Linked DNA regions of Homo sapiens: regions 2, 3, 4, 5, 6 and 7 are each linked to region 1. The links are contacts of gene promoters, found by promoter capture Hi-C in blood cells and fetal thymus (Javierre and others, 2016). All regions are on one chromosome and are shown on one strand. Each heading gives the region's core, a stretch centred on a gene start or on the middle of the fragment in contact. The rest is flanking DNA. Distances are from core to core; before and after follow the strand shown. Region 1 holds the start of CEBPB (CCAAT enhancer binding protein beta). Region 2 overlaps PTPN1 (protein tyrosine phosphatase non-receptor type 1). Region 3 overlaps PTPN1 (protein tyrosine phosphatase non-receptor type 1). Region 4 overlaps PTPN1 (protein tyrosine phosphatase non-receptor type 1). Region 5 overlaps PTPN1 (protein tyrosine phosphatase non-receptor type 1). Region 6 has its middle 15 kb from the start of PTPN1. Region 7 has its middle 47 kb from the start of PTPN1.

Region 1 (4,404 bases), core at 628-3,127:
ATAGGGAAGGAAATTCACTAGCAGGTGGGACAGGGAGGGCCTCTCAGAAGCCGTGGCCTCTAGCTCAGCCCTGAGTGTCCCATTTTGCAGTGAGGAAGGGCTGGCCGGGTGGCCCTAGGGAAGCTGCCGCACCCCTCTGGGCCTTGATCCCTCCCCAACCCAGAGGCTGCTGGGAAGACCCAGAAAGCCAGCAGGCTGGGCCAGTGTTTTATCCCCTCCCTCCCTGCCTCCTACCCACCAAGGGTGCCCAGAGATGTCATTTCTCCAGCTCTTGGGGGCGGAGGTCACCCCAGCTCAGCAGATAACACCAAAGGTTGAGCAATGCCCGCCTGCCCGCTGGGGCCAGGGCTGGGGTCAGTGGGCTGGGGATCAGCCCCGGGCAGGCTGGGAGCTCCTGCCTAGGTGGCCTGGGCTAGGAGTGGCAGAGAGGTGGGCCCAGGGAGCTGCCCCAATGGCCTAGGAATGGGTCCGGGAGGGCAAAGGGCCCTCTAACCTGAGCCTACCCAGCAGAGGCGGGCAAGTGGTCAGAAGGCCTTGGGCCTGTGTTCAAGTCCAGGCGGGCCGTTGTCGCTTTCCCGTCTGTGAAATGGCAGCAGCAAAAGCATCTTCCTGGTGGGGTGAAAAAAGTTGAACCTCGGGGTGCAGGCCCACCGTAAGCACAGGGCAGGGACTTGGTAAAAACTTATCTTTCTCTTTCCTTCTCTTTCCTGCATACCACCCCCTCCCGTGAGGCCTCGCTTAAGTCCCTCCCTAGCAACTTCAGAAACAGAAGTTTTTGGCCTCTGGGACTGGCAATAGGTCTTAGGGCTCAGATGAGGGCATTTCATTTGGGATGAATGGGGGACATGCGGCCATGTGACCTTGGTATGCCACGCCATGCTCTCTCTGGGCCTCCACTGGCACAATCCGTGGGGGTCCCGTTCTCTCTGATGTGCAGCCCACAACGTAAGCCTTAGGTTTGGGAGTCTGGTGGGAACAATGCCACCACCACTGACAGTAGCGACACCCTTCATGGATTGCAGCTGGGAGAAGTGAAGTGACTCACCCAAGGTCACACAGTGTGGCAGGGCCGAGCACCCCCCGCCCCTGCCCCATCCCAGGGCCCAGGTCGGGTGGCGCAGCGCGGGGCAAGAGAAGACCCGGGCGTGTCCAAGCCTCGAGCAGGCGGCAGGTGTGGTGGGCGGGGCTAGGGGCGGGGCTCCGTGGACCAGGGTCCAGCCCCAAGCGGGGCGCGATCCTGCCCGGTCGCGCCGACCCCCGGGGTCCTCATATTGTCTGTGGCTTAAGAGGGGAGTCGTCACAGGCGTCAAGTCTTCTTTCTAAAGCCGGGGACCTGGGGAGGAGGTGGGAGTTTACGGGAGGAAGGGCCACGGAGATGGGTCGCTTCTCCTGGAGCTAGAGCTGCGGGCTGGGGTCTCCAGGGTTCGGCCCGGGGAGCCGACCCTGGTCGGCCGTCGGGGCTCTGCTCGGCCCTCCTGAAACCTCCGCCTCCTCCAGCAGGGGGCGGGCCGGGGCCGCGTCTCGGGGGGAAGGCGATCAGGTCGCCCCCTCCTCCGATTCCCCCGCCTTCCAGGACAGCCTCCAGCCCAGAGGGGCGGTCCGGGGGCGGGGTCGCACCGCCCCCTCTCGCTCCCAATCCCGGGGCGGCCGGGCGGGGGTGGGCAGGGGGCGTGAGGCCGCCCCTGCGTCCCGGGGGCCCCCCGAAAACGCGCTCCGGGTGCCCGGTCCCTCCGCTGCGCCCTGCCGCCGTCCTCCCGGGGGTCTCGGGCGGCCGCGGCCGTGTCCTTCGCGTCCCGGCGGCGCGGCGGGAGGGGCCGGCGTGACGCAGCGGTTGCTACGGGCCGCCCTTATAAATAACCGGGCTCAGGAGAAACTTTAGCGAGTCAGAGCCGCGCACGGGACTGGGAAGGGGACCCACCCGAGGGTCCAGCCACCAGCCCCCTCACTAATAGCGGCCACCCCGGCAGCGGCGGCAGCAGCAGCAGCGACGCAGCGGCGACAGCTCAGAGCAGGGAGGCCGCGCCACCTGCGGGCCGGCCGGAGCGGGCAGCCCCAGGCCCCCTCCCCGGGCACCCGCGTTCATGCAACGCCTGGTGGCCTGGGACCCAGCATGTCTCCCCCTGCCGCCGCCGCCGCCTGCCTTTAAATCCATGGAAGTGGCCAACTTCTACTACGAGGCGGACTGCTTGGCTGCTGCGTACGGCGGCAAGGCGGCCCCCGCGGCGCCCCCCGCGGCCAGACCCGGGCCGCGCCCCCCCGCCGGCGAGCTGGGCAGCATCGGCGACCACGAGCGCGCCATCGACTTCAGCCCGTACCTGGAGCCGCTGGGCGCGCCGCAGGCCCCGGCGCCCGCCACGGCCACGGACACCTTCGAGGCGGCTCCGCCCGCGCCCGCCCCCGCGCCCGCCTCCTCCGGGCAGCACCACGACTTCCTCTCCGACCTCTTCTCCGACGACTACGGGGGCAAGAACTGCAAGAAGCCGGCCGAGTACGGCTACGTGAGCCTGGGGCGCCTGGGGGCCGCCAAGGGCGCGCTGCACCCCGGCTGCTTCGCGCCCCTGCACCCACCGCCCCCGCCGCCGCCGCCGCCCGCCGAGCTCAAGGCGGAGCCGGGCTTCGAGCCCGCGGACTGCAAGCGGAAGGAGGAGGCCGGGGCGCCGGGCGGCGGCGCAGGCATGGCGGCGGGCTTCCCGTACGCGCTGCGCGCTTACCTCGGCTACCAGGCGGTGCCGAGCGGCAGCAGCGGGAGCCTCTCCACGTCCTCCTCGTCCAGCCCGCCCGGCACGCCGAGCCCCGCTGACGCCAAGGCGCCCCCGACCGCCTGCTACGCGGGGGCCGCGCCGGCGCCCTCGCAGGTCAAGAGCAAGGCCAAGAAGACCGTGGACAAGCACAGCGACGAGTACAAGATCCGGCGCGAGCGCAACAACATCGCCGTGCGCAAGAGCCGCGACAAGGCCAAGATGCGCAACCTGGAGACGCAGCACAAGGTCCTGGAGCTCACGGCCGAGAACGAGCGGCTGCAGAAGAAGGTGGAGCAGCTGTCGCGCGAGCTCAGCACCCTGCGGAACTTGTTCAAGCAGCTGCCCGAGCCCCTGCTCGCCTCCTCCGGCCACTGCTAGCGCGGCCCCCGCGCGCGTCCCCCTGCCGGCCGGGGCTGAGACTCCGGGGAGCGCCCGCGCCCGCGCCCTCGCCCCCGCCCCCGGCGGCGCCGGCAAAACTTTGGCACTGGGGCACTTGGCAGCGCGGGGAGCCCGTCGGTAATTTTAATATTTTATTATATATATATATCTATATTTTTGTCCAAACCAACCGCACATGCAGATGGGGCTCCCGCCCGTGGTGTTATTTAAAGAAGAAACGTCTATGTGTACAGATGAATGATAAACTCTCTGCTTCTCCCTCTGCCCCTCTCCAGGCGCCGGCGGGCGGGCCGGTTTCGAAGTTGATGCAATCGGTTTAAACATGGCTGAACGCGTGTGTACACGGGACTGACGCAACCCACGTGTAACTGTCAGCCGGGCCCTGAGTAATCGCTTAAAGATGTTCCTACGGGCTTGTTGCTGTTGATGTTTTGTTTTGTTTTGTTTTTTGGTCTTTTTTTGTATTATAAAAAATAATCTATTTCTATGAGAAAAGAGGCGTCTGTATATTTTGGGAATCTTTTCCGTTTCAAGCATTAAGAACACTTTTAATAAACTTTTTTTTGAGAATGGTTACAAAGCCTTTTGGGGGCAGTAATTGGCTTTTGTTTTTTATTTTTTTACTTTATTTTGGATTTGTAGGATTTTGTTTTTGCGTTTCTGGTGTGTAGGGGGTTGTGTGTGGGGGGCTGCTGTTATTTTTGGAGGTTTTGGTGGTTGGGTGGGGGTGTTGCAGCTGGTTTTTCTGCCTCCTCTGCTACTCCCCCTCCCACACACACAGGGTCTGCTTGAGATGGGGTTCCAGCCCCGGGGGAAAGGGGAGAAGAGTAATGGGTCAGGCATTCAGGCTGACTCAGAGCCCCTAGGCGCCGGGACGGGTGGCTGGGAACCCTGCTTGAGAAGAGATTCCGGAGCCTCTGGCTGGTCCCGAGTGTCAGGCTTGGGTTTGGAAGGGCTGGGAGGTCTGTGACCCCTGCCCTGTGTTTGGGGACTAGGTAGGCAGGCCTGTGACTGTAGGAGGAGGGGGTTCAGGTCTTGGTCCTGCTGAGCCCGAGTCAGGGCAGATGCTTTTGGTCAGTGTAGTGGGGTGGGTTGTTTAAAACACAGTTTGTGTATACATGTGTATTTTAAAGAGGGGAGCCTGGGTGTGTGGGCGAGTCTGTGTTTGTGTGTCCCTGGCCAGCAGGAGGGGAGAGGCCAGGCCAGGTGGAGAGAGGTGGGGGAGGGGTTCCCACACTTTGATTACCTTTCCTGAGGATGGGAG
Region 2 (4,404 bases), core at 1,421-3,920, 380 kb after region 1:
GCCAAGAGCTGTTTATCTGTTCACTGGGGAGGGAAGAGTTAAATGTGGTCTGCTTTTCTCCGAGTCCCTTCAGCACAGGGAGTGCTGACTTGTCTTGTTCAGGTAGTAAGTTCAAGATGAGCTCAGGAAAGAAAGTGAGAGGACACTGAGGGCTAGTGGTTGAGCCAAGTGTGATGGGACTTAAAGGGAGAAGATTTAAAGAATAAGGAGCTTATGGGCCGGGGACGGTGGCTTACGCCTGTAATCCCAGCACTTTGGGAGGCTGAAGCAGGTGGATCACTTGGGTCAGGAGTTCGAGGCCAGCCTGGCCAACATGGTGAAACCCCGTCTCTACTAAAAATACAGAAATTAGCTGGGTGTGGTAGTGTGCACCTGTAATCCCAGCTACTTGGGAGGCTGAGACAGGAGAATCGCTTGAGCCCAGGAGGCAGAGGTTGCAGTGAGCCAGGATTGCGCCCCTGTACTCCAGCCTGGGTGATGGAGCGAGACTCTGCCTCAAAAAAAATTAAAAAAAAATAAAGAGGTTAGGTGAAAATAGATGAGAATGGAAACCATGAGAAGAAGTGATGCTGGCCAAGGACATGACAGGTTCTGATGTGGAGGTGATAGGCAATGTCTCTTCCAGCCACTGCTAATAATTGAGACAAACTCAAGGCATTCATACCCTGTGTCCAGTAAACATCTGTGCCCATTGCCAGGTGAGCTGGATTGAAATGGGCCAGCTGCTCAGCAGACACCCTCATGCCCCAGTGACTCTGTTCCCCTTGGGCCACCTCATTGACCATTTATGTTTCTACATCTCCTAAGTTTGTTGGGCCAAGGATGGAGGCTGTCTGCCGTCAGGGTCCTCATTGCTGATGGTAGGAATAGTTGCTGATGTTTCATTGGATGTTGCTGTATTCTAGGGACTGTGCTAAGTACTTTATAGAAATGAACATACTTCATTTTCACAGTTTTATGAATAGGGACTATTATTAGTCAAGTAAGCGATGGGGAAACTGGGGCAGGGAGCGATGAAGTGACTTGCGCAAGGTCACAAGATGATGTGATTGGAACCAAGAGAAGTGTTGTGGTTGGCCACGCCCCCACACTGCCTCTCATCTGCACCAAGGAGTTTTGTCCCATAGCCCAAGGGCCTTGGGGACGAATCTCAGTGGAGGCCCTTAGCGGGCCTGCCTGAGCCAGAAAGCAGAATCGGCATTTTTCTGTCCTTGGTTGGCCCAGCCCTGAACTGAGATGCGGAAATCGCCTTTCGCTGCCTGGTAGAAAATGGAGCTGCAGTTACTGACCACCAGGCAGAGAGAGGTGGGTCCCTGTCCCAGCCTCAGCCACCACTCTGCCTAAGCTGTGGGGACTGAGGGCGCTGTCGTTAGCTGACTGCAGAAGGTGAGCACACGCTGTAGCATGTTATGTTTCAGATGTCACATGTTGTGTTATTGTGTCTTTGCAGGGCCCTTTGCCTAACACATGCGGTCACTTTTGGGAGATGGTGTGGGAGCAGAAAAGCAGGGGTGTCGTCATGCTCAACAGAGTGATGGAGAAAGGTTCGGTAAGTCTCGGCTTCATTTGCTGTGTATGTGATCATGCATACCACTCCATATAGTTACCATTTTCGTCCAGATTTTTAAATTATTTTTCTTGCCTTTGTATTTCCTTTACGTAGTATTTTTATTTAAAAAAATTAAAACAGCAGCATATAAATGCATGTTGGTTGTCAACCAGTTAATGAAGTGAATAAAAGGGAGGAGGCGGAAGAACTGCACGGACCTCTTCGCCCCCGCCTTCTCCTGTGTGGTGCGTGTGGCGCTCCGCCCACCTGTGCTGCCTGTGCGGCTCTCATCACAGTGTGGAGTTGTGTGTGGAGTTATGGAGACCTGCTTTTATCTTGAAAAGCAAGTTCTTAGTGCATCTTCATGGTGTCTGATTTTTTGGCTGGTGAGAGTGTGGCTACCTCTGCGGAGCTGTGGGAGCGGCTGACTAGATGAGATTTGCCTCCATTCAGTACCTAGACTCTTGCCCTGCCACACCTCTTCGGAGTGAGCATTGACTTCAGGATGTGTGTCATTCTAAGTTCCTGCAACTTTTCAAACACCCCTCGGGCTAGCGTGTGGCTGCACGGTGTCCATTTGTGCAGGCCACCACTCCTCTTGCATCTGGGTCTAGCCACCTCTCCTTCTTGACTTACCATAGTTCATTTTGTACCATGCTTTCAGAATGAGCTTTCTCAAATCCAAGTCTCACCACGGTTCTTCCCAGCTGAAAACCCTTGTGCGGTTCCCTTTGCCTCACAGGATAATACATGGTGTGGCTTACGGAACCCTGCAGGTCTGGCCCTAGGCCCCTGGACACAGACCTCTCACCACTCTTGGAACTTTAGCCAGGACAAAGTTTTCTGTTTTTAGTTTCTTACCATGTTCTCTGGGCCGAGGAGTCCCAGTGCCCACGTTCATCCCACTTGCAGGCACCCCTGGACGGCTGCCCCCAGCTCCCCAACTGCCTGCATTCTCCCCTGCCCTCCTCACTCTGTTGGAATAGCTGAGAATAGCCGATTTCTGGGCAGCCGGCCTCCTGTGTAGACTGTCCTGTGTAGACTGTCCTGTGTAGATTGTCTGTGTAGACTGTCCTGTGTAGATTGTCTGTGTAGACTGTCCTGTGTAGACTGTCCATGTAAACTGTCCTGTGTAGATTGTCTGTGTAGACTGTCCTGTGTAGACTGTCCTGTGTAGATTGTCTGTGTAGACTGTCTCTGTAGACCGTCGTGTATAGACTGTCCTGTGTAGACTGTCTCTGTAGACCGTCGTGTATAGACTGTCCTGTGTAGACTGTCTCTGTAGACCGTCCTGTGTAGATTGTCTGTGTAGACCATCCTGTGTAGACCATCCCATTTAGACCATCTGCCTGTGCAGGCGCAGGCCAGTGTTCAGCAGGGCCACAGGCTCCTCGGCCTCCCTGCCCTCGCTGCTCCCCAACACTGCCAACCCTGCTGCGGGGTCCAGGAGGAGATGGGCTGAGGATCGTGGAGACCAGCAGGAGCGTGTGGCCCAGGAGCAGGGAACTGGGTGTCCTTGGGCCTTGCCAGGTCCAGGCTCAGCTAGGACACGGCTCTCACAGCTGTCCTGGTTGCCTCCGGCCACAGAAGAAGGTGAGGGCTCCAGAGAGGCCACCTTTCCAAAAAAAGCACAGTCATGGCCCTAGAATGTAAAAAATCCAAGTGTTAAGAAGGAACACATCAAAGGAAACTTCAGCAGTGAAAACTTGAAGCATTAACCACGAAGCCTCTGCCTCCACCACACACAAAGAAACGGCTTTAGTTACTCGCAGAAAGTCTTCCTCTTAGGACAGCGCGTGTTTAAAATCATAGGGGTTTGGTTTGTTTTGTTTTGGGGTTGGGGTTTTTTGGGGGTTTTTTACCCTTGCCTACTTTTTAAAAAATGAAAGTGTTTATTTGCCCAACAATAACAGACAGGGAGCTTGCCTAAGTGTTCTGTTGATGATATAATGTATCTTGTCTTAGAAAAAAACTTTTTCAGTGAAAGGTGGTTTTTAAATTTTTTCTTCCCTCCTTAGTAGCTTGATTAGTAAAATGTGAAGTTACAAATGTGAAGCAAACCCCCACCCTTCACCACTAGTCAGCAATTTTGAGTAAAGAAACAAAGCATCAGGTGCTCACAGCACACACTGTCTTAGAGGGAAGGGGAAGCCTGGTGGCCTGTGGAAGCCTTCAGCATAGCTCCATCTGCAGGCTTCTGACCCTCAGCACTACTGACACTTGGGCTGGATCATTGTCTGCTAGGGATCCGGGCAGGGAGTGGCTGTGCTGGGCGCTGTAGGAAGTTTAGCAGCATCTCTGGCCTCTATCCACCAGATGCCAGTAGCACCCCCTCCCCAGATGTGGCAGTCAGATGTGTTTCTGTCTAGACTCCAGACTTTGTCCAACGTCCCCTGGTAGGCCAAATTGCCCCCGGTTGAGAACCACCGCTCTAGATGGTATTGAGGGTTGGGAATTTTAAATCAAGACATTTATTCAGAAATTACCAGATATAGTAGCATTTGCTTCTTATTTATTTCTTTGTTGCTAAGTGTTTGGCAAAACCTCTTTGCTGTGAGCACAAGGTTTGCTTTAGCAATTGTTGTCACATTACAGCAAGGAGTGGTGTCCAGCGCTGTAGTTATGTATTTGAGCAGTGTCCAGTGCTGTAGTTATGTGTTCCAGCCTCACCAGGCCCTGTGCTTCATTGTCTCCCACTCAAGACTGACCACAAATGGCCCACAGATCCACTGTGACAACCTTTCCCTTTGGGTTACTGTGGTGGCATCGAGAACATGGCTGGTTGGCTTTGCTGTAGTTTACTGTGATAACTGTGCCAGCAGTCCCTGCTTTCCTTTGTTAAGTATCCCATTCCA
Region 3 (4,404 bases), core at 824-3,323, 360 kb after region 1:
CACCACGCTTGGCCCAAGTATGTTTATTTTTAAAGTCCCCAACAAGCTATACAATAAATTGCATATGGAATGGATTTTTGTTCTAGTTGATTTGTTGGTTATCATTTGTAGAACTAACTAGTTGTCTTCTGTGTTTGATACCTTGCTTCTAGGTCATTTTGAGTTGGGAGCCTTTTGTTTTGTTTTTATTCTCATGCTGTTTTTGAGCCTAGCTGTGCCTTTATGGTTTTCTCTAAATTTAATTGACCATTGTTTTATATTTGGAGCAGTGGGTGTACATCAGAGTGTGAAAGCAGCCCCACCCTCTCCACCAGAAGGTCTCCATGCCAGTTTCACGAAGCATTTTTCATGCCCTCATTCCTGCCCTTATCCCTTGATTTGTGGGGAGTTTGTAAAGCAGTTGATTGTTTTTTTTCCACGTAGTTTTCCAAGTGCACATAATTGTTCTGTTAGTGACTTGTAGCTCCATTATCTATTAACCTTGCCCCAGACCACTGTACAAGCGGACCCAACGCTTCCTCCAGCTGTGGCAGGGACAGTTACTTGGTATCCTGCTGCCTTTTCAATGCTGACCAGTTTTGCCCCTTCCTCCCCTCAACCCCTGTCTTTCATTCAACTATCACCAAACCAAAAGATTCTGGTTTGCTTTTTAGTATGTGTTCTTATTCAGTACATAGTCATTTTAAAATTTAAACCAAAACAGACTTGGTACTGATTAGCTTAATTTTAAGCTTTTTCTTTATTATTAAACAGTGTAGTTTATCTTAGCATTTCATATTAAGTATATGATTTATTTCATATTGCTTATATGAATGTACACATAAATATAATAAAAATATTTTCCTAAGGTTTTTGTAGTAAATTATATCGTTTCATTAACTTTCATATATAGCATTGCTTTTGACCTGGAAGACATTGAACCTCTGATGATTTGTATATTCCTCGGAGTATACTTTGTTACATAGAAATTTTCTCATTTATAATGAGATTTGTGATTAACAAAATTTGTTCAACATGCATTACTTTGAAGATCTGGTTTCTAAAATTTTATGCTAGTTACCCCACCCCCCCTTCTATATATATCTCCCTATTCAGCGACTACTGCAAGAGTTCCAGGAAATGTACACTGTGTGTTCACTTACTGCATTTTAAATCATTGCCTTTACTATATTTCTGCATTTCCCTTCAATCTAGCTCTGTCTGTACATTTCTGAAAGCCAGTAGCTTCCCTGAAGAACCAGGTAACAACCCGAACAATCAAATTAGATAACCATTTGTAGAATGGAGGTTCCGGGAGATCTTAGAAGATGTGATGGGTGCTAAGGGACTTTGTAGTTCCCTGAAGTTCCAGTGAGTAAAAGGTACCCTTGGAATTTTTTATTCCTTCAGACTTTTAAAACAGAGATCACTTTCAAAAATTACTCTTTCTGCTTTGAATCCATGTTTTAGTAACTATTTTGACACTGTTTGGTCAGAAGGCTGTGTGGGTCAACTGCAAATAAATAAAATAAATGTGATTTCAGTAATTTCCATTTTGTAACAAGTAATTGAGAAAATAGGATTGGATCAGATATTTGCTTATACACATTCCCTTTCAGGAGCACTTCTGTTCTATAAAGAATGTTGGTATATTGTTAAGGACACTTCAAGCTTTGGGAACCTTTGAAGTATCCATTGATTCAGTTAACAAAATTATGTTGAGTGCCTACCCTGGGCCTGGGCCTGTGTTAGGAGGGGACACTAAGATGAGAGTCCAAAGCACTTCTTCTCAGACTCCTGGCTGCTAATGGGTTGCTGCCTCTACTTCTTCACTTAGCAGATAGCTTTAAAATGAGTAATGCATTTTACCATGGAGCCCGTAAGAGACATTCACCCAGTTGTGGACCGAGGAGAAGGGTGTTAAACCCAGATTGTGATGTTTCACTTGATGAAGTGCTTAATATAAACATGGAAATATTTCCGCAAGGATAAACTGGCTTTTATGCCTGTGTGTTTTCAGGAGAAATAGAAATCTCTAATCAAATATTGCCAGCTTTTCACCCAAGTTTGACTTTTTGCCTAATTGAGTTTGGGAGGTGTCTGAATAATGGATAATGAGCTTTCCTGAATAAATATAAAAATTAATTAACTCCAGGCTCTAATTCATTCTGTTACCAGAGTTTTGTAAGCATGTTACCCCTTTGTGTTCATTGGGAGATCATCTGTTACCTTCTTAAATGAGTGGGGAAGGATGGGAAATGAGGAAGAGCTATAAAAACTATTCAGGTGAAGAAGGTTTCTGCCCCTCCTTGCCCCTTTTAAAATCTCCAGCTCAGCAGATGCTTTGTTTAAACTTGATCAAGTGCTTGTGAATCTTCCTAGCCTAGCTAAATCATAACTTTGGAAGGACTTGCTTTTTTCTCTCATGACAATGGTTTACCACAGAAATGATTCAGATCACTTTGTGTGCCTGATGCCTATGTAAAATGATACAGTGAAATGGAAACCATTTACCTGTAAGCTTTGGGCACACCCAAGCCTGCTTCAGGAGCACATGATCAGGCGTGCACTCTGGGAGAGCCGTACACATTTGACATCTATGATGTGTGGCGTTTTATTCTATCACATTTCTGAAATCTACACTAAGAGAAAGGAGGCTCTTAAAAAACCACTGAGGTGTGGACTGGGGGAAGGAGAGATCCGTAAAGAACCTGTTTGTTACCTGTTGATACTATTTCCCATTGGTAAAATTTCTAATTTAGTGTGATCCAGCCCTGAAATGCTGAGGCACACACTGAATGACTCCTGACATCTTTAGTGTTTTTGTTCAGGGGACTCTTCTGGGAATCTGTTTCATGGCAAGTTTATTATTCCCTTTTGGTTTGGCTCATCAGTTTACCCAGCAGTCATCTTAATCGGTTTTAAAGGCTTTTATTTTATTTTGTTTTCTCTGTGGAAATTTTACACATTCAGTAGATTAGAAGTAGTTATTTAATCTTTGGTTAGCATAATAAAAGATCTTCTAGGGACATTTTTTGCTTGCAGTGGAAGGCTAGTTAAATGTGTTCATTAGTCATGAATCTGCTTTTTCTATAGCTGTTGGAAACGTAGCTCCCCTGTGATACAGTTGTAGAATACAGAAATCTCGTTTTGCTGTTACGGTACGGTAGTCTACTTACTTTCTTCCAAACCATTAATGTTATAGTTACCTTTAATTGCGTAGGTCCTATCACCCCTCAATTTTAAGACTCTAAGCCTGGCATTTTATCTTACAAAATGAAATATAAAGACTTGTACTCAGAGTATGTGTGTGTTTTCCATATACCATTCTAAAGTAGAGAAAGATGAGGGATTCGCCAGAAACTGATTTCTAATAAATTATCCAGAAACTGACCCCTTCTCACCTCTTCTGTTACTGTCACTGTGGTTTCAGCCACAGCATCCTTTGCTGCATTGTTACCTTAGTTTCCTGACTGTATCCTTCCTTACACCATTGATCCCTGCAATCCCATCTGCGCGTAGCAGCCAGAAGGGATCCACTTACTGCTGTGATCAGAAATCCTCAGCCAGGTGCAGTGGCTCATGCCTGTAATCTCAGCACTATGGGAGGCTGAGACTGGAGAATTATTTGAGCCCAGGAGTTTGAGACCAGCCTCAAACTGGGTAATATAATGAGACCTCATCTCTACAAACAGGAAAAAAAAAATTTTTTTTTTTTTTTTAACTAGCCAGGTATAGTGCTAATATACCTGTTCTGGGATCCAGCATGCTCTCCCTGACCTGCAGCTTCATCTCCACCACTTTGCCCCTCACTCCCACCACAATGGCTTTCTTCTCTTCCTCAGACATGCCGTGCGTCCTCCTACCTGGAATATTCCCCTCCAAACATTCCCATGGCTCACTCCCTCACCTTCATCAGATCTCTGTTCCAGTGTCACTTTTACTGGAAGGTCTTTTGTGACCATCCTACTTATTATAAAAAAATAATCTGCCCAACCTTCTCCTTTTATTTCCTCTACTTGATTTTTCAATTTAGTACTTATCAGCTGACATATATTTTGTCTCTCTGTCTCTCTCTGTCTCTCATAGAAGGTAAATTCTATAAAGGAAGGAATTTTTATGTTTGGTTCTTTGCTGTAGCTCCAATATTCAAAACAGTGCCTGACACACAGTAGGCCCTTTATATTTGTTGAATAAATGTTGACACTCTGATATCTAATTTTTGTCTGGTGACTAATACGAAAACTATAGAGTGATAATAAAAGCATTACCTTAGTAGACTGGAAAGGGATGAGCGCTAGGATGAACTTTCTGCCTGGCGATCTTGCTGAATTTAGGAGGCAGATTGGGGTTCAAAGGAGGCTGAAATGGCTAGGATTTGCAGAGCAGGGTACTAAGGATGAGCAGGCTATGACAGAAAGAACT
Region 4 (4,404 bases), core at 506-3,005, 340 kb after region 1:
GACATAGAGTCAAAATGGTAATCAAGCATGAAAGTACAGACAGTCCTTAACGCACAAATGTGTCATGCTTGAAAAGTTGGAAAGTTGGTTCTCTGGAGCTCTGATTGTATTGTCCTGTAGAATCCGTGTTGTGAATGGTGGTTAAATCCCAAATGAGTCCGTAGAACCTATATAATCTGCAATATACCTGCAGTATTCCAATTAATATGTAATTCCCCCATAGAACTATGTTAATGATTTGTATGTATGGTATTTAATATTATACATAATAATGATTGTATGAATAAAAAACATTCTGGGCTCCATGTGGATGATGGGGTGTGTGTGTGTGTCTGTCTATGTGTGGGTGGGTGTGTGTTCATAGATCCCTTTTCCTGCAATCCTGGCACTGGAATTGGTTTTATCATTTCCAATTAAGTTTCATTCCCATGAATTTTGGAGTACAGACTGGGTCCAGGTATGCAGGGCATAGATTAGAGCCCTGAGAAATAGGATTAGGCTGGAATTGCTGGGTTGGAGATCAGTAGCTTCCAGGAACACTTTTTGGGCCTGGCTGTCTTCATTATCCCCTTTTGTTTTCTCCTGGGGTCTGCAGGTATTGCCCTGTTTTGTTCCTCTAATATCACTTTTTTTTTTTTTCTGCTTTTGACCAGGGTTTTTGCCTCTGGTCTACAACTGAATATCCTATCAGACTCTCCTGATTTTGAAATAAATATATAGTTTTTTTGAGGTGTTCTAGCGAATTTCTAAATCTAAATGTTGTGGCAGAGTTATTACATACTAATTTTGCTATGAGAGGTTGTAGAATCCCAGATGACTAATCTTGTAAACCATACACGCATTTCCATCTAATTCTCCATTGTATATCATGTTGCAGAAAATAACAGCCTCTAGAGTTTACATTGCCTCCTTTGACTATATTTCTTATTTAAGATTAGTTTTCAGATAAGACCTTTTCATGGCAGTACATAACTGTACAGAGGGCTTCCAACTTGTCTTGGGAGCTCTCATCTCTGGGAGACATCACATTACCCACTGCCCCCTGCCCCCCGCCCCCAGCCTGGATGCACTCAGCCTGTACCCCATTTCTGTCCTCAGCCAAACACTGCTGAAATGCAAGAGCTTTCAATTGCTAGCCAGTGAAGATGCAGACTAAGGGATTTCCATGTAGAAGCCCGCTCTTTTCAGCTGGCTCGTCGAGAGCTGGAGGCCCCTTGCTTGTTCACATGAGGCTTTTTGTCCCTGACTTGGTGGCTGCTGTTTCACTTCTCAGCAGAAAGGGACACCCTTGCCCCCCCCCAGAAAGGAAGATTTGATGTACCACTTCCGAAAGGTTCAGTCGGGCATCACTGTAACCAAGAAGATAGGTCAGGTGAGGCTGGAGGTGGAACAGGGCTGCTCGCTAGAACTCCAGATTGTTCCACAAGTGCCTTCTGGCAGAGAATGATGGAAGCTTCCGTGATTTTTTTTTCTCCTTAATAGTTATGAGCACAGAAGAGGAGCAGATTGTCTGGCTATAGAAGCTGTCTTATTTTTTATTTTTGTTTTTGAGATGGAGTCTTTCTCTCTTGCCCAGGCTAAAGTGCAATGGCGCGATCTCGGCTCACTGCAACCTCCGCCTCCCGAGTTCAAGCGATTCTCCTGCCTCAGCCTCCTGAGTAGCTGGGAATTACAGGCATGCGCCACCATGCCAGACTGATTTTTGTATTAGAGACAGGGTTTCACCATGTTGGTCAGTCTGGTTTCGAACTCCTGACCTCAAGATCTGCCCACCTCAGCCTCCCAAAGTGTTGGGATTACAGGTGTTAGCCACTGCACCCGGCCGAAGCTGTCATATTAAATAGCACTTTCTGCTTTTAGCAAATTTAATCCAAATGAGACTTTAGATTTTCTTGCTCTGACTTACCAGCAGTTCCTTGAAACACATTTAATTATTTTTGCCAGAAAATCACTCAAGCACTTACGCCATTTTTTTACCGTGAAAATATGCTGCATTATTTTAAAATATATTAGAAGTCAGTAACCATAAGATTTTATATGTTTTCTAATGTATTCTGTAAGCTTTCTGCTGCTTTTGTTTGGAAGGTGTATTTTGTAACGTAGAGGACTGCTTTATCTGCTTGTAAGCTTGATTTTTGTTTTTACTGTAATTTTTTTTTCTTTTGCTGTATTGAGAAATACATTGAGTAATTATAAAGTCAGTGGCATGTTTATAAGTTAATATTTGTATCTATTCCTTAGTTACTCTAACTCAAAACCTAAAGTAATCTTCAACTCTAATTTACTCTGACATCCAGTTGACTGCCAAGTCCTCCAACTTAATCCTTATCCTTTTTTTTTTAAAGAGATGCAGTCTTGCTTTGTCACCCAGGCTGGAGTGCAGTGGTGCAATCATAGCTTACTGTAACCTCAAATTCCTGGGCTCAAATGATCCTCCCACGTCAGCCTCTGGAGTAGCTGGGGCTACAGGCTCTTGCTACCATGCCCAGCTAACTTTTTATTTTTATTTTTTATAGAGACAGAGTCTCACTGTTGCTCAGGCTGGCCTTGAACTCCTGCCTTCAGGCGGAACTCCTGCCTTCAGGCGGTCCTCCTGCATTGGCCTCCCAAAGTGCTGGAATTACAGGCCCAATTTTATTCTTGGGATGTATGTCTGAAACTCTTTCCTTCACTTCCTTCCCAAGCCTTAGTTCAGGCCCTTCTCATCTGTGGTCTTCAAAGTCGCCTTCAGCTGGTTCAGGTCCTTCCTTTCTGCTGTATCTTTCATGGGAGGACATGTTATGTATCACTGTCCTACTTGAAAACTTCCATTCCCCATTGATGAGGGTGTTACCTCCAGATTCCTAACACAGGTGCTGAAGGCATGCCTGGATAAAGGCACTCCCTTGATCTCCTGGCCAGGTCCCCGTACACCTGCAGCGCATGCTCCACATTCTGTCTTTACTGATGCTGTGTCTTCTGCCTGCGGAGCCACCCACCATTCTATTCACAGCCCCTGCCTCAGCGGAGCACGTGCCTCCCTCTTCCTACACTGAGCTGTCCTTTCTATTGAATCCCCTCTTTTTTGTAGTATGGGAAATATTTTATTATGAATACTCTTTTCTCTGTTGCCTCCGTGACCACGTTAACTTTGCCCTAATTCGCCTTAGGACTCCATCTGCTTAGGGGAAAGTTAGGATTTGGTTACAGAAAGCAAGCTGCTAGAAAGAACAGTGTTTAGCTTCTGACAGGCAAAATAGGATTTTGCAACATGCTTTTCCTTTTTAATGCTTAGACATTTTATATGAATTAATATTTTTATTTGGTTGCTTATACATTACTTTCTTTTTAGCTAGAATGTGAACCCTATAGGAACATGGGGATTGCCTTTCACATCTTTGTATCCTCAGTACCTAATGTTCAGTCACCCTGTGGTCTTGTGTCGTATATACATTTAGCCTTCCTTAATTAAACCATATGTACTGGTCCCCGTCCCCCACCCCCAAATAGAGAGAAAGAAATTCCTTGAATACTACATTGCCAGTATCAAACCACACCTTGATATCCTCTGGGGAAAGGGAGGTATCAGTTGAAAAGAGAAAAGAGGTTAAAATCTAGGCATTAAAATGTGTAAGGCTTAGATGCTGGCAATTTAAGGTATGTTTTCCTGAGGTTAATTTTGATTGTGTGCAAATTTTACCTCATATCTAACTGTAGGATTTAGTCACCACATAAGATGGGATACCTCCATAAATCCTTCAGAAATGTTTGTGAAATTAAATAAAGCCTTATTGAAGACTCAGCTCTTGAGAGTCATCTACCTACCTAACAGTTATTCTTGAACAGAAGAGTCTTACTTTTCCCTATAAGGCAGTGTGATAGCCATCTGTATATTCATATAATTTATGTTGGCGCTTACTTCATTTAAAAATGTATTCCGTGAATGCAGTTGCCAGGCGGTGTGCTGATCAGAAACGTGTACCAATGGCCTCTTTTATAATTATAAGAGGAAGACCAACCTGAAACAGTCACACAAATGATTAATTTTAATTGTGGAGGAGTGCTGGGAAAGAAAAATAAAAGATGCAATGCAAGTGTTTACAAAGGAGCTTTGAGCTTGTTTGAAGTGGTCCTTGGGCACTTAAGCAAGGCTTAAAGAATGATGTGATTAGAAGTGGCTTAGCAATTCTAAAGAACACAGGGAAGGCGTGTGGCCAGAACATTGGTCCCTAGAGCACATCGCCTCCTGACATACCATTTCCTTAAGTTAATGTTTTACCACTATACATAGGCCCTCCCCTTTGTTTACCCAGATTTTTTTAATTTTAAGGATGTTTTTAATAACTTAGAATCCTGTAATTTGTTGAACAGTCCTGTATTCCCTTTACTTATATTCCTTGAGATTTTATAAAATATTTTTTACAT
Region 5 (4,404 bases), core at 540-3,039, 330 kb after region 1:
CTCCCACCTTGGCCTCCTGAAGTTGGGATTGCAGGCGTGAGCAGGTACTTTTTCTGAGGCCTGCCTGAGCCTATATATATTTTGCACAATTTGGCATTCCTCCCTACAGTGTTTATGCTGATTTGTTTCTGGTAACAACTAATACTGGCAAATCGGCTGGGCATGTTACTTTATGCTGCCCATATTCAGGAAAATTGGAATTCTAGCTGGGTCATTGTTCCCAGATGATGTAGTTTGGCACCAGCCATTCCATGTTCACATTTTGAGTATCCAGGAGGGCTGGGGACTTTGGAGTAGTTGGTGATTCCCTCTGCCACATTTCACTGGTTGGTCACTATGGCATCCTTTCCACCACACTAGTAGTCTAGGTTCTCAGATGTTGCTTATGAGCCTGCAATGGTTTCTAGTTTCACACTGCAGAAATGAGTGAAGCCGGTTACCCGTTAATATGGTCCCATCATCACTAGAGTAATTCATTGTTCTAAAACCAGATCTGAGTCTCTCACTCCTCTGCAACTACTTCTGATTCTTTCATAACACTTGTAAAGTCCAAACTCCTCTTTAGCATGGCAGCCAGCTTCCAGTCCTTCCCTCCTATGTGGCTTCCATTCTAGCCAGACAAGAAAGGGCAGCGTTCTCCAAACTCATCCTCGCCCTTCATTCCTCTATACCATTGCTGAGCACTTTGTTGAGGATGCCTCTCCCGTTCAATCTAGCTTGCATCTTCCAGCTCGAATGTGTGCTTCCTTGCACCAGAGTTTTGTTCCGTCACCTGTGTGTTTTCATACAAGCTGGCACATATCTCTTCTAAAGCCCTGCTGTCATTGTAGCTGCGTCTTTACAAACATTTTTTTTTTAAATTTTTATAAAGTCAAGGTCTCACTATATTGCCCAGGCTGGTCTCAAACTCCTGGGCTCAAGTGATCCTCCTGCCTTGGCCTCCCAGAGTGCTGGGATTATAGGTATGAGACACTGTGCCCAGCTGTAGCTGCTACTTTATATCCCAGGTCTATCTCCAATGGAGCCCAAGCTTCCTGAGGCCACCTGTTGTATCTTTCTCATTCATCTTGAAGTCCTCTGCTCCTGGCACAGAGTAGGTACCTAACAAGAGTTGGGATTGAATTGATGGTCAGTACTTTGCTAGCCTGATGGTATAAAGATGTACAAAACATGTTCCTGGCTCCCACTCTAGGGGGGCAATGATGGAAACAAATAGATTAGCCCACATTAGTACCAATAGTAGAGGTCACTCTGGGAGAAGGCCCCCACCACATTTTGAGTCATGGCCTAATGAGGTAATTTAGTATTGCCTGCTGCAGTGGCTTTGGAAGAAAGGCTGGCATTCTTAGCCAGTAGAAGCTGATACCACTGATTTGTTTCACAGAAGCTTTAAATATAACAATAAATTTGTGCTTGGCCTACGGTGAACTTTACAGGCAACTTGGAGGTAATATGTTTGTCTCTCTAAGAATTGTTGAATTCCTCTTCCCTCATCCCTCCTGACTGGTTCTCACAAGCCTAGCGGGCCTTTGCATGTGGTTGGTTCATAAAATACTTTTTGATTTTGGGATATAAAATATAGTTCTCCATAAAATAACGACTGTTACCAAGTCTTTGATTTTTTTTTTCAAACTATAAATGGTAATGACATTCTTTGGCCTTTGATCAGACCACCCTTAGGGGCAAGAGAGTAGTTTCATGTTTTGCTTTTTCTAGTGTCCCCTGTGTCTGGGTATAGTTGCAGTCTCAGCTGTCATACTAACAGTGCTGAGTGAGTCCCTTACTTTCTTTGGGTTTTGGTTTCTCCCTTGTAAAAATGATCCTGGACTAACTGATCATTAAGTTCAGGTCAAGTAATAAAAATCCTTAATGTACTCACAAATACAATTTAATGTTCCTGAATAATCCTTGTAAAAACTGCAGCAGTTACTCAGTTTTGTAAGGTGTGGTTGGGTACTATTAGGCTCAAAAGTTTATAGGAGCTTTGTGAGTATAGTTAACAACTCAAAAGAATGGGGTGTTTTTTCCCGAGGGGCATGAAATGTTTTTGATAAATAGAGTTCATTTGACTTGGTAATGTGGAAAATGAGTAGCCCTGACACGTACGCTATGCTTTTGCAGTTTTTCTCTCAAGTAGCAATTGGGTGGCTTTTCCTGTAAAAGATAGAGGAACTGATTCTTGAGAATTTACGAAAGCTTCAACCCTAACTAGGTATGCAAAGAATAGTTGCCCTTTATGTTGTAATTTTAGGAAGAAACCTACATCTGGTCTAAGTTTCATTTGAATAATATGATAGTTTACACATCTGCCATATTTGAGAAGAAAGTACCTAAGTCTCCAGCATTTTAGAAATAATGCTTTACTTTGTGTAGAAATGGTCTTTAGAGTTTAATAGCTGCTGCCCTCTCCTTTTTCAAAGCAGCTTGACATAATCATGAGTATCTTGCTGACAGCTTGTAAATTTTGATTGTATGAAAACTGAAAATAAGACCATTTCACATGGAAGATTCCCTCCTGCCCTGAAACAGCCAAAGAAAACTGTAGCCATCAAATCTATTGATCTCTGGGCTTTGGTACAAGTCACACTACTACAAATAAAATAATACCAAGTACTTATAAATGATTTTCAGTCCTTTTAAAGTTTATTTTTTTAATATTTTTTTTGAGATGGGGTCTTGCTGTGTCGTCCAGGCTGGAGTGCAGTGGCACAATCTTGGCTCACTGCAACCTCCACCTCCTGGGCTCAAGTGATCCTCCCACCTCAGGCTCCCAAGTAGCTGAGACTACAGGCATGTGCCATCACGCCCAGCTAATTTTTGTATTTTTTTGGAGTAGAGATGGGATTTTGCTGTGTTGCCCAGGCTGGTCTTGAACTCCTGGGCTTAAGCCATCTGTCTGCCTCAGGCTCCCAAAGTGTTGGGATTACAGGTGTGAGCCACTGTGCCCGGCCCAGCCCTTTTTTTAAGAGAAAAACGTATGACATCGTTCGATTTACTGAGTGCTTATGGTTTTACTAAGGCAGTAAGGTTTTATGGATACCCTATGGTAATTAGATAGAATTAGTGCTCTGAAGTCAGCTCTGTAATATGGACTCAGAGTAAACATGGCAAAGGGACACTTAAGGTCTGCATTTTCTCTGGGAAATAAACGTATTCTTTACTACTCTGAATCTAGTGCTGGGAAATTCTAAATCCTTCTTGAGGATTAACCACTTGAAGTAAAGTTTTGGGTCCCAAGTAGGCTTGTGTCCCTGTCTCCTTCTCTTTACTTTTCAGATGTTTCTTCCTAGAGACTGAGGTATATTTTACTTTTACAGATGAAGAAGGAAGCCTCGGCTGTGTTTGTGGCTTTTGTGGGTGAGCAACATCACTTGCAAAGATAAGATGAGCATAGCAAAACTAGGCTTTCAAAATAATTTTTAAAAATTTCTTAGTGATTAGAAAAGGAAAACTCTTCCCTTGTCTCTGTTAAGAAACGTTTTTCGACTTTTTTCCTTTCTTAATGGATCTTTTATTGGCACTTCTCTTCCTTTTGCAGAATCTTACTTAAAAGTCACTACGTTACATTACAGCAAACAGCTTAGCTAATTTTTATCCAGATGGGCCCCGGTTACAGGATTGTACACTATTGCGAATTTCTTACAGGAAAGTGAACATCAAGTAATTATTCCAAATAGAGTTCTCTTAAGAACGTGAGTTACTTAAAAATGTCTAAGGATGAAGTCACTTCTGAATATAACTTCACTCAAGAGAACAAATAAGCAAACTGCATTTAGCATAACATGGTAAATTAGCTTTAACTCTCCTTGATGTTTGAACATTTGTCGCTGTTAACTACTGTTTCACTTTTCAAATAGTCAGGGCTTAGTTTGCTTCTGTAAGGATAAAGGGAAAATACGCCTTCACTGAGTCATAAATATTTTTGTGGCTAACTTTTGCACAGAGAAAAGAGGCCTCTAAGAAGGTACCCAGTGAATTTTTTTTTCGGGGCAGGGAGAGAATATGTCATTTTTTGGTTTGTTGTTGTTGTTGTCATTGTTTTGCTTTGTTGTTTTTACTCTGAACTGAACTGTATCTTGACAGCACTTTTGAATTAAGAGCATTACTCTTATTGTTCTCTACTACCTGGACGCCACCTCCCTGTTGCCATAGTGTTAAGGATCATGCTCCGAGGTGGGGTGAGGCAGAATGGGGCCAAGATCAGAAAGTTACATTAAGCTACATCAGGTTTATACAAGCATAAAACCAAATTTTTGGAGCAGTCCCCAGAATACAACCTGGTTTAGCCACACCTAAAGGTTGCTCTTGAATATTCCTTGAGAATCCACATCCCTAGAATGCTGGGTTTCAATGGGCCCTTTATGTACCTATCATGGTGTCATTTCTGAGCATTTCTAAATATTC
Region 6 (4,404 bases), core at 1,020-3,519, 310 kb after region 1:
AAACCACTTTATTTTTACAATAATTGCTACCAAATGGTCTCTGTTGAAATTTCCTTTTTCCCTCTGGGGAATGATCAGAATAACAGAGTAGTGGTAGTAGAGGCAGGAGCAGAGGTAGCGGCAAGCTCCCAGGTGGCCCCGCCTCTGTGCCAGGCACTTGCCTAAGCTCTTGGCATATATTACTCACCAAATCTTCACAATGAGCTTCTGAGGTAGGGACCAATAGTTATCTCCATTTTACAGAAATAGAGAAAAAAGAACTTAAATGAGTTGCCCAAAGTCACGGAGCTATTAAAGAATGGGCTTCCTCAACCAGCCTCTCAACAATTCCATAGCATGCCTGACTGACTCTTTGGTTACCAAAGCTGTCTATTTCAGGTCTTAAAACCCAAATCTCCTCCAATTAGAATGTCAGTCTCAACCAGTGAAGCACAACGAGACCCAGTCTCATGGTCATGATGTCGAACAAACGAAGACAGACACCAAAAAGCATGCACGGCATGATTCCATTTATGTGAAGTTCAAAAACAGGCAAAAGCAATCCAGGGTGTTAGCAGGATAGTGGTCACCCTTGGCAAAGGGTAGTGACTAGGAGGGTTACTAGGTAGCTTTCTGAGGGGCTGGGAGAGTTCTGTATCTTGATCTGGGTGCAGGTTATGTGAGCATGTTTAGTCTGGGGAAATTCACTGAGCCGTGCACTTATGATATATCTGTGTGCATGTACACACATATACTTTTCTGTATGTGTTTTATAGTTCAATATAAATTTCCTTGGAAAAAACTTCATTCTCAGATCTGATTCAAAGTTCTTTTAGATCCCCTGGCCCCATGTCACCCAGTTCAAGCCAGACTCATGATTCTAGTGGCTTGGAGCTGGGACAATGGGTAGGGGGAGCAGGAGAAGCAAGACGTGCTCTCTTTCCCCTTCTCCTTGACGCCCACGGTAGAATGGGCATAAGGATGGGCTGCCATTCTGCTGAAATGGCTCCACAGCGAGCCGTGAAGGAAGGTGGCTGACCCCAACTGCTGAATGACCTTTGAACTTAGGCCAAGAGACTCAGAGCACCCCTAACATCATCCTGTTGCACATGTAAAGTGCCTAGCACAAAGCAGGTGTGTAATGGGGGGGGAGGTGCTAGATGGAGATGCAATATTTTTGATATCTTGAGGACTAAAAGTCGGGATGATCTGCTCTTTCAAATATGCCAGAAATTTTTGGATTCATAATCAGTTGAATAATTGATTTCTATTTGAAGCCTTTTAGTTAGACAAAAGGAAAAGTGATAAGTCTGCCATCTTCATCTGAGTTCCTCCAGAAGCCAACTCTGAGACAAGGATTTAAATGCAAGTAATTTATTCCTGAGGAGATCCTTGGAGGCAGCAGGTGAGGAGTGGGGAAGTGACCACGAAGTTTCTGATTTAGGACAGTGGTGAAAAGTTGATGCAGGTGGCTTCTAAAAGATCTTGACTTCCAAGGCAACTAGGGCTCTGGGGAAGGAATATGGCTGAACTTCAGACCCATAGGGCTACAGGAAGATAGAGACAGAAGACAAAGACCATGTACCAGTTAGCATGCTCTCAACTGCAAGTAGCAAGCCAATCCAAAGTGGCTTAAACAGTAAAAATGCTCCTGATGTCTTCAAATAATGTCTTCAAATAATGTCTGGGAAGGGACATGAATGAGCATGTGGGCCAGTGGGGCTCAAACCCACCCATGTAAGGGCCATGCCTCCACATTGCCATACCTGAGAAGCAAGGAGCTGGGGTATTTATCTCTTTCGCACTTTGGGAGGCTGAGCGGGCGAATCACCTGAGGTCAGGAGTTCAAGACCAGCCTGGCCAACATGGTGAACCCTGTCTCTACTAAAAATACAAAAAGTTAGCTGGGCGTAGTGGCACATGCCTGTAATCCCAGCTACTTGGGAGGCTGAGGCAGGAGAATCACTTGATCCCAGGAAACAGAGCTTGCAAAGAGCCAAGATTGTGCCACTCCAGCCTGGGCAACAGAGTGAGACTCTGTCACCAAAAAAAAAAAAAAAAAAAAAATTGATAAAAAGAGAAAGAGAGAGACAGAGACCTCAGAAAGACAGAGTGAAAGGGAGGGGTTAGAATAAAGGGAGGATGAAGATCGAGATGAAGTGACAGAGAGACCTAAGAACTTGTGAAAATGTGCTTACCAAAATGTGAGCAGTGGCCAGGCGCGGTGGCTCACGCCTGTCATCCCAGCACTTTGGGAGGCCGAGGTGGGCAGATCACAAGGTCAGGAGATCGAGACCGTCCTGGCTAACACGGCGAAACCCCGTCTCTACTAAAAATACAAAAAAAAAATTAGCCGGGCATGGTGGCGGGCGCCTGTAGTCCCAGCTACTCGGTAGGCTGAGGCAGGAGAATGGCGTGAACCCGTGAGGCAGAGCTTGCAGTGAGCCGAGATCGCACCACTGCACTCCAGCCTGAGGGACAGAGTGAGACTCCGTCTCAAACAAAAACAAAACAAAACAAAAAACACACACACAACACGTGAGCAGTGACCAGCACAGGTAGTAAGAGTTAAAAGTAAGTTGTGGGCCAGGCGCAGTGGCTCACGCCTGTAATCCCAGCACTTTGCGAGGCCGAGACAGGCAGATCATCTGAGGTCGGGATTTCGAGACCAGCCTGACCAACATGGAGAAACCCTGTCTCTACTAAAAATACAAAATTATCCAGGCATGGTGGTGCGTGCCTGTAATCCCAGCTGCTAGGGAGGCTGAGGCAGGAGAATTGCTTGAACCTGGGAGGCAGAGGTTGCGGTGAGCCAAGATCGCTCCATTGCACTCCAGCCTGGGTAGCAAGAGTGAAACTCCGTTTAAAAAAAAAAAAAAAAAGTAAGTTGTGTCTCTTTTATATGCACTTTTCAAGTTTTCTTCATTAAATGAGTATTCCTTTTGTGATAAGAAAAAGAAATAAGAACAACAAAAATGTCCTACCTCCAATGCTAGAACTTCCAGCTCTGCGTGTGAAAACACCCACTTTAAATTGCTTCTCTCTTTAGTTCAACCATGTTTCTTGAAATGGTTTGAATACAGGCAGAGTTTCCTTCTCTCCCTCCTTCCTTCTTTTTCCTTTTTTTTAAAGGAGACCAAAGTCAGAGTTGCCTCAGTGCTGACCCAACATTGAGGCTGAAAGTGGGTACAATAAGGGTAATTTAAGAAGGCAGGGATTAACAGCTGCTTTGGAAATGACAATTGGGTTAACCTCTTCTTCATTCTCACTCTCTCTCTCTCTCTCTCTGCAAGAACCATCTTGCCCTAGAGGAATGCAGGAAGGCAGTGGGGAGGGAAAATGACTCTGTTTAGGGAGGTGATAAAATGGGATGTGATGATTAATTCTTCATATATTTATTTGACAAGCATTCAGGGAGCACCTCTTCTCGCCCAGGTCCTGGGCTAGGCCCTGGGGACATAGCAAGATGAATACTACAGGATCCACGACTGTGAGGGCTGAGAGAGACACACGTGCAGATTGCTAAGACCAATATGAGAGGATCATTCCATACCCAAACACAGAGTTGCATGAAGGCCGAGGTTCTGCTTTCACCCCACCAGATACCAATTTCGCTCCTGAAATGAAGAAGTAAGGAGTGACCAGAGAGAATCTTATTTAGCAGGCAGTGATGATAAGTTAATACAGGTAGTTTCCAAAAGATCTTGACTTCCAAACAACTGGTGCTCTGGGGAAGGAATGTGTCTAAACATGAGACCCATAGGGCTAAAGGAAGGTAGAGACAGAAGACAAAGACCCTGTATCAGTTAGCATGCTCTCAGCTGCAGGTAACAAAAAAACCAACCCAAAGTGGCTTAAGTAGTAAAAATGTTTATGATGTCTTCAAATAAGTCCAGAGCTAGGCAGTCCCAGGGACAATTCGATAACTCAGTGATGTCAAGGACCTAAGTGCTTTTTATATTTTTGCTCCTCTATCTTAGCCTGGTTTTAAAAAAAAATAATTCCTCCCATATGTCTCTCTTTTTTTTTTTTTTTTTTTTTTTTTTGAGACGGAGCATCGCTCTGTCCCCCCAGGCTGGAGTGCAGTGGTGCAGTCACGGCTCACTGCAAGCTCTGCCTCCCAGGTTCATGCCATTCTCCTGCCTCAGCCTCCCGAGTATCTGGGACTACAGGTGCCCGCCACCACGCCCAGCTAATTTTTTCTATTTTTAGTAGAGACAGGGTTTCACCATGTTGGCCAGGCTAGTCTTGAACTCCTGACCTCAAGTGATCCGCCCGCCTCGGCCTCCCAAAATGCTAGGATTACAGGCGTAAGCCACCATGCCTGGCCCCATATGTCTCCTTTACAAGAAGGGAAAATCTTTCCCAGAAGCTCTTGGGCAGATTTTGCAATACTGCCATTGGCCAGGATTGAGTCCCATACCC
Region 7 (4,404 bases), core at 685-3,184, 270 kb after region 1:
GACTATCAACAAATAATTTTGCTGCAAAGAAATACAGATATGGGAAAGGATGCACAATATATTATCAAATGACCACAGGCCTCAGAAACATTGTATACAAACACTCTATCTGTGTGTGTGTGTGTGTGTGTGTGTGTGTGTGTGTGTGTGTGTGTGTGCGCGCGCGCGCGCAGAGAGAGAGAGAGAATCTTGGTTGTTAACCAGCCTGGAGTGAACACGACTCACTGCAGCCTCCACCTCCTAAGCTCAAGCAATCCTCCCACCTCAACCTTCCAAGTAGTTGGGACTACAGGCACCTGCCATCATATTTAGTAGAGACAGGGTTTTACCATGTTGCCCAGACTGGTTTCAAACTCCTGGACTCAAGTGATCCTCCAACCTTGGCCTCCTAAAGTACTTGGATTACAGGTGTGAGCCACTGCACCCGGCCTGATATATCTATATTTTAAAAATATGTACTTTCATAACATGTATGAGAAACAAATACCTCATTTTCTTAGTATATAAAAATCCCTAGCAGATCAACAAAAAGACAATTATCCAAGAGAAAAATAGACTAACAATTTGAATGCTTTGCCACCAGAAAAGAAATATAAACAGTCTTTGAACGTATTTTTTAAATGTCCAATCTAACATATAAACAATGAATATGTAGATTAGAACTATGGTGAACACCTTTTTCCCCTATCGGCAAGGCCAAGATCAAGAAGTCCAATCATACTTGGCCTTGGCTAGGACGTGGGGAAACCAGAGCTCACGGAGGTTGCCGGTGCAAATGACGATTGGTAGGTACAACCTTAGAGAGCATTTAGACAACCAGCGTCAAAATGTTTAAACGCACCTGCCCTATGACTGGGCGATTCAGTTGCTAAGAATGTATCCATCAGAAATAGCTCTGAATACATGGAAAGACTTCTGTGAAAGGGATACTAATTGCAGCATTGTTTGTTGCAGAAAAACCCTGGAAATACCTCCGTGACTATCACCAGAAAACTTGTTAGATAAATTATTATATTCAGACAATGGAATGTGCAAAGAATGCTCTCCTAGTGCTGATCTGGAAAGATCTGCCAAGGTACATTGCTAAGTTGAAAAAAACAAAATCCCAGTGCAGAACAGGGTGTGTGGTGTGCTTCTATTTAGAGAAATGAGTACAGGAATCCACGCACATATTTGCTTATCTGTGTTCTGGATGTCTCTGTAATGATCCCCAAGAAATGATAACCAGAATGGATTCTGGGGAGGGAAGCTTGGAGTTTTAAAGCTGGGGATGGGGGTTAAGGATTAGAGGGAGAAGACCCACTGTAAATCTTTTGGTATCTTTTGAATTTTTGCATATGAATACAATCCCTTGTTAGTTTTTAAAAATGGAACTTTTTAATGCATTGATAGATGACAGAGAGAAAAATGCCTTGAAGGATATGCTCCAACGTGTCAATAGCACTTATCTCTGGGTGGCTGATGTGAATTAGAAGCGACTTTTATTTTGTTCTTTTTTTATTATTTCTCTAATCAATTATTTATTTTGAGACAAGATCTTGCTCTATCACCCAGGCTGGAGTGCAGTGATGCGATCACCACTCATTGAAACCTCTGCCTCCTGGGCTTAAGTGATCCTCCCAGCTTAGCCTCCTGAGTGGCTGGGACTATAGGCACTTGCCACCATGCCTGGCTGATTTTTTATTTTTAATTAAATTTTTTTTTGTAAAGACGAAGTCTCACTAAGTTGCCCAAGCTGGTTTTGAACTCCTGGGCTCAAACGATCCCTCTGTTTCAGCTTCCCAAAGTGCTAGGATTACAGGTGTGAGCCACTGTGCCCGGTCTGTTCTTTTTAAAAAATACAGAGACAGGGTCTCACTTTGTCACCTAGGCTAGAGTACAGTGGCATAATCATAGCACCCTGCAGCCTTGATCTTCTAGGCTCAAGTGATCCTCCAGCTTCAGCCTCCCAAGTAGCTGGGACCACAGGCATGCACCACCACTTCTGGCTATATTTTGTTCTTTTTACTTAGATTTTCTAATTTAAAAAAATAATTACCAGCCGGGTGTGGTGGCCCATGCCTGTAAATCCTAGCACTCTAGGAGGCCGAGGCAGGAGGATCATTTGAGCCCAGGAGTTTGAGACCAGCCTGGGCAACATAGTGAAACCGCGTCTTTACTAAAAATACAAAAAAAAAAAAAAATTAGCTGGGTGTGGTGGTGCTCACCTGTAGTCCCAGCTACTCAGAAGGCTGAGGCAGGAGAATCACTTGAACCTGGGAGGCAGAGGTTACAGTGAGCCCAGATCACACCACTGCACTCCAGCCTGGGCAACAGAGCGAGACTCCGTCTTAAAATAAAATAAAATAAAATAAAATAAATAATTATCAAGGTATATTCAGATAATTTTTTTAAAAATTAAGTAAGTAAACACCTCAGTGTTCTCTTGGTAGTCAGGGGAAAACTAACTTCTACATGAAAAAAAGAAAAGACCAAAAACACATACACTTCTCTAAACAGGCAGATTATTTTCATTGCCAAGGACATTACAGAGACTGAGGAGTGGGTTGGAAATATATTCTATGAAAAATCGAGAATTAATACAACTGTCCTACCATGCACTTTCTGGGCATCAAAACGCCAAGCTTCTAACTCAGACCTGAGTTCAAACTCTGACTGCCACTTACTAGCTGGGCAAGTTGCTCCTACGCCGTTGGCCTCAGTTTCCTCATCTGTAGTCTGAGACCACATTGCTGCTGGCAGGCTCGAGTGAGATCATGCCTGTGAAGTACTTGGCTCAGGCGTACTCAGAGACCCAGTTCAAACAGGGAACAGGCAGAAATTCTGCACCCCGCAAGGGTGACAGGGCGGAGGGAGGACAGGAGGGGCCGCTTTGCCGGACTGGGGATCAGTGTGCAACTAGCTGGGCCCGGAGTCCCCCACAAACCGGCCAGCTCAGAGGTTCTTCCGACAGTTTGGAGAGAGTGACACCAAGTGGCCAAGTCTGAAACTACACCTTCAAGCCGGAGGGTTAGAGCCTCTCCCCGACCCCTCCAGCTGCGGTCCTGAGCCAGGCACTGAACTTCCCTGAATCTGAGTTTTTTCAGCTGCGAAATGGAGGTAATCCTGCCTACCTGGCAGAGCGGAGGTGGGAATTAAATGAGGTAACCCGCAGAGATTCTCTCCAGGACCGCCATGTTGCACAACTTCAGGGGCCCCATTCATGAAACTGTGCAACATAGCGGCACCCCTAACAGGTGGCTGTCATTATCATCCCTCCCTCAGACACTGAGTTTCCTTCTCTACTCCCCTAGAGCGATTCTGAAGCTGGGTCTTCCAAAGTATAGAACAAATACCAGTGGGATTCGTGGGGAGATCTTGGTGGGCACAGCACCCCAGTATCAAATAACATTTCATTCTCTGTCAATCATTCTGATGGCATCTAGGCGGCAGTCTCAGTTTGATAGGAACATGACATTAACGCCTTTCTAACACTTACCTGCCTCCCTTCCGAACTTTCTGTTTGAGAGTGGGCCTCAGACTTAGTGCCTTCAGAAGGCAAAATTATTTGGCTAGAATTTAATAAAGTTACATGTTTTCATAATATTTACTTTTTGTGGTCACCTTCTATTGAGAGCAAGTGGTGCTGGTTTTCCCTTTACAGTAGATGTGGTAGATTGTATTATTGTCAAAGTATTTATCCCATTGGCAATTCCCTGGTGACCCTCCCGGCTGAAGTCAGGCTTGGCTGTGTGACTTCCTTTGGGCAACAGAGTGTGAGCTAAGCTTTCGAGAAGCGGCTTTGTCATGTGGTTTATCTCTGCTGTGAGAATGGCCTGCCCCAGGAATGGGCTGCACCTTTAACCTGGATCAGAGTAAAGATGACATACGGCCCAGAGCTGCAGTGACCCACAACCAACAAGTAATGAGAAAATAACTGAGGATTCATATTCTCAATATGAATAAGAAATCGACCTTTGTCATTAACAAGCTCCTGAGATGCTGGGGCTGTTTGTTATTGCAGTAAAACATAGCTCGAGTTGGCTGATGCAGTAGAGTTATTAAGTTTCCTTTAAAAATAAATATACTGGGCCGGGTGCAGTGGCTCACGCTTGTAATCCCAGCACTTTGGGAGGCTGAGGTGGGTGGATCACGAGGTCAGGAGTTCAAGACCATCTTGGCCAATATGGTGAAACCCTGTCTCTACTAAAAATACAAAAATTAGCTGGGTGTGATGGCACGCGCTTGTACTCCCAGCTACTCAGGAGGCTGAGACAGGAGAATCGCTTGAACCCAGGAGGCGGAGGCTGTAGTGAGCCGAGATTGTGCCACTGCACTCCAGCCTGGGTGACAGAGCAAGACTCTGTCTCAAAAAATAATAAATAAATAAATAAACTGGCCTGGTGCAGTGGCTCACGCCTGTAA

What was found. Contacts are between HindIII fragments. The CHiCAGO score rates a contact against its expected background, and 5 or more counts as called.
Region 2: a fragment that was not itself captured here is called in contact with the fragment with the promoter of CEBPB in region 1 in 3 of 17 cell types (naive CD4 T cells, naive CD8 T cells and monocytes); the score reaches 6.7 in naive CD4 T cells.
Region 3: a fragment that was not itself captured here is called in contact with the fragment with the promoter of CEBPB in region 1 in 2 of 17 cell types (monocytes and total CD4 T cells); the score reaches 6.3 in monocytes.
Region 4: a contact is called between a fragment that was not itself captured here and the fragment with the promoter of CEBPB in region 1, in 1 of 17 cell types (monocytes). The highest score is 9.3, in monocytes.
Region 5: a contact is called between a fragment that was not itself captured here and the fragment with the promoter of CEBPB in region 1, in 3 of 17 cell types (monocytes, neutrophils and fetal thymus). The highest score is 8.2, in monocytes.
Region 6: a fragment that was not itself captured here is called in contact with the fragment with the promoter of CEBPB in region 1 in 3 of 17 cell types (neutrophils, monocytes and naive CD4 T cells); the score reaches 10.7 in neutrophils.
Region 7: a fragment that was not itself captured here is called in contact with the fragment with the promoter of CEBPB in region 1 in 17 of 17 cell types (neutrophils, monocytes, total CD8 T cells and 14 more); the score reaches 31.7 in neutrophils.

Annotation. Positions count from the first base shown.
Region 1 is chr20:50,188,953-50,193,356 of GRCh38, forward strand. CEBPB (CCAAT enhancer binding protein beta) reads left to right here and starts at 1,878. Exons shown (of 1, transcript NM_005194.4): 1 at 1,878-3,716. The coding sequence starts at 2,082. The coding sequence ends at 3,119. CEBPB-AS1 (CEBPB antisense RNA 1) reads right to left here and starts at 3,117. Exons shown (of 7, transcript NR_125739.1): 1 at 2,712-3,117; 2 at 2,316-2,470; 3 at 1,046-1,333; 4 at 504-609. RefSeq lists silencers at 1,411-1,820, 1,780-2,074, 1,901-2,110, 2,251-2,690, 3,111-3,220. The HindIII fragment of the contact is 16,423 bases long and covers 1-4,404 here.
Region 2 is chr20:50,566,930-50,571,333 of GRCh38, forward strand. PTPN1 (protein tyrosine phosphatase non-receptor type 1) reads left to right here. Exons shown (of 10, transcript NM_002827.4): 4 at 1,451-1,549. Among named protein-coding and RNA genes, the nearest start is that of MIR645, 17 kb to the right of the region's middle. The HindIII fragment of the contact is 9,665 bases long and covers 1-4,404 here.
Region 3 is chr20:50,549,004-50,553,407 of GRCh38, forward strand. The region is part of intron 1 of PTPN1 (protein tyrosine phosphatase non-receptor type 1); the gene reads left to right. Among named protein-coding and RNA genes, the nearest start is that of MIR645, 35 kb to the right of the region's middle. The HindIII fragment of the contact is 850 bases long and covers 1,649-2,498 here.
Region 4 is chr20:50,532,400-50,536,803 of GRCh38, forward strand. All of the region lies in intron 1 of PTPN1 (protein tyrosine phosphatase non-receptor type 1), which reads left to right. Among named protein-coding and RNA genes, the nearest start is that of PTPN1, 24 kb to the left of the region's middle. The HindIII fragment of the contact is 608 bases long and covers 1,452-2,059 here.
Region 5 is chr20:50,514,608-50,519,011 of GRCh38, forward strand. The region is part of intron 1 of PTPN1 (protein tyrosine phosphatase non-receptor type 1); the gene reads left to right. Among named protein-coding and RNA genes, the nearest start is that of PTPN1, 6.4 kb to the left of the region's middle. The HindIII fragment of the contact is 809 bases long and covers 1,386-2,194 here.
Region 6 is chr20:50,493,630-50,498,033 of GRCh38, forward strand. No RefSeq gene overlaps it. Among named protein-coding and RNA genes, the nearest start is that of PTPN1, 15 kb to the right of the region's middle. The HindIII fragment of the contact is 8,989 bases long and covers 1-4,404 here.
Region 7 is chr20:50,461,457-50,465,860 of GRCh38, forward strand. No RefSeq gene overlaps it. Among named protein-coding and RNA genes, the nearest start is that of PTPN1, 47 kb to the right of the region's middle. The HindIII fragment of the contact is 1,375 bases long and covers 1,248-2,622 here.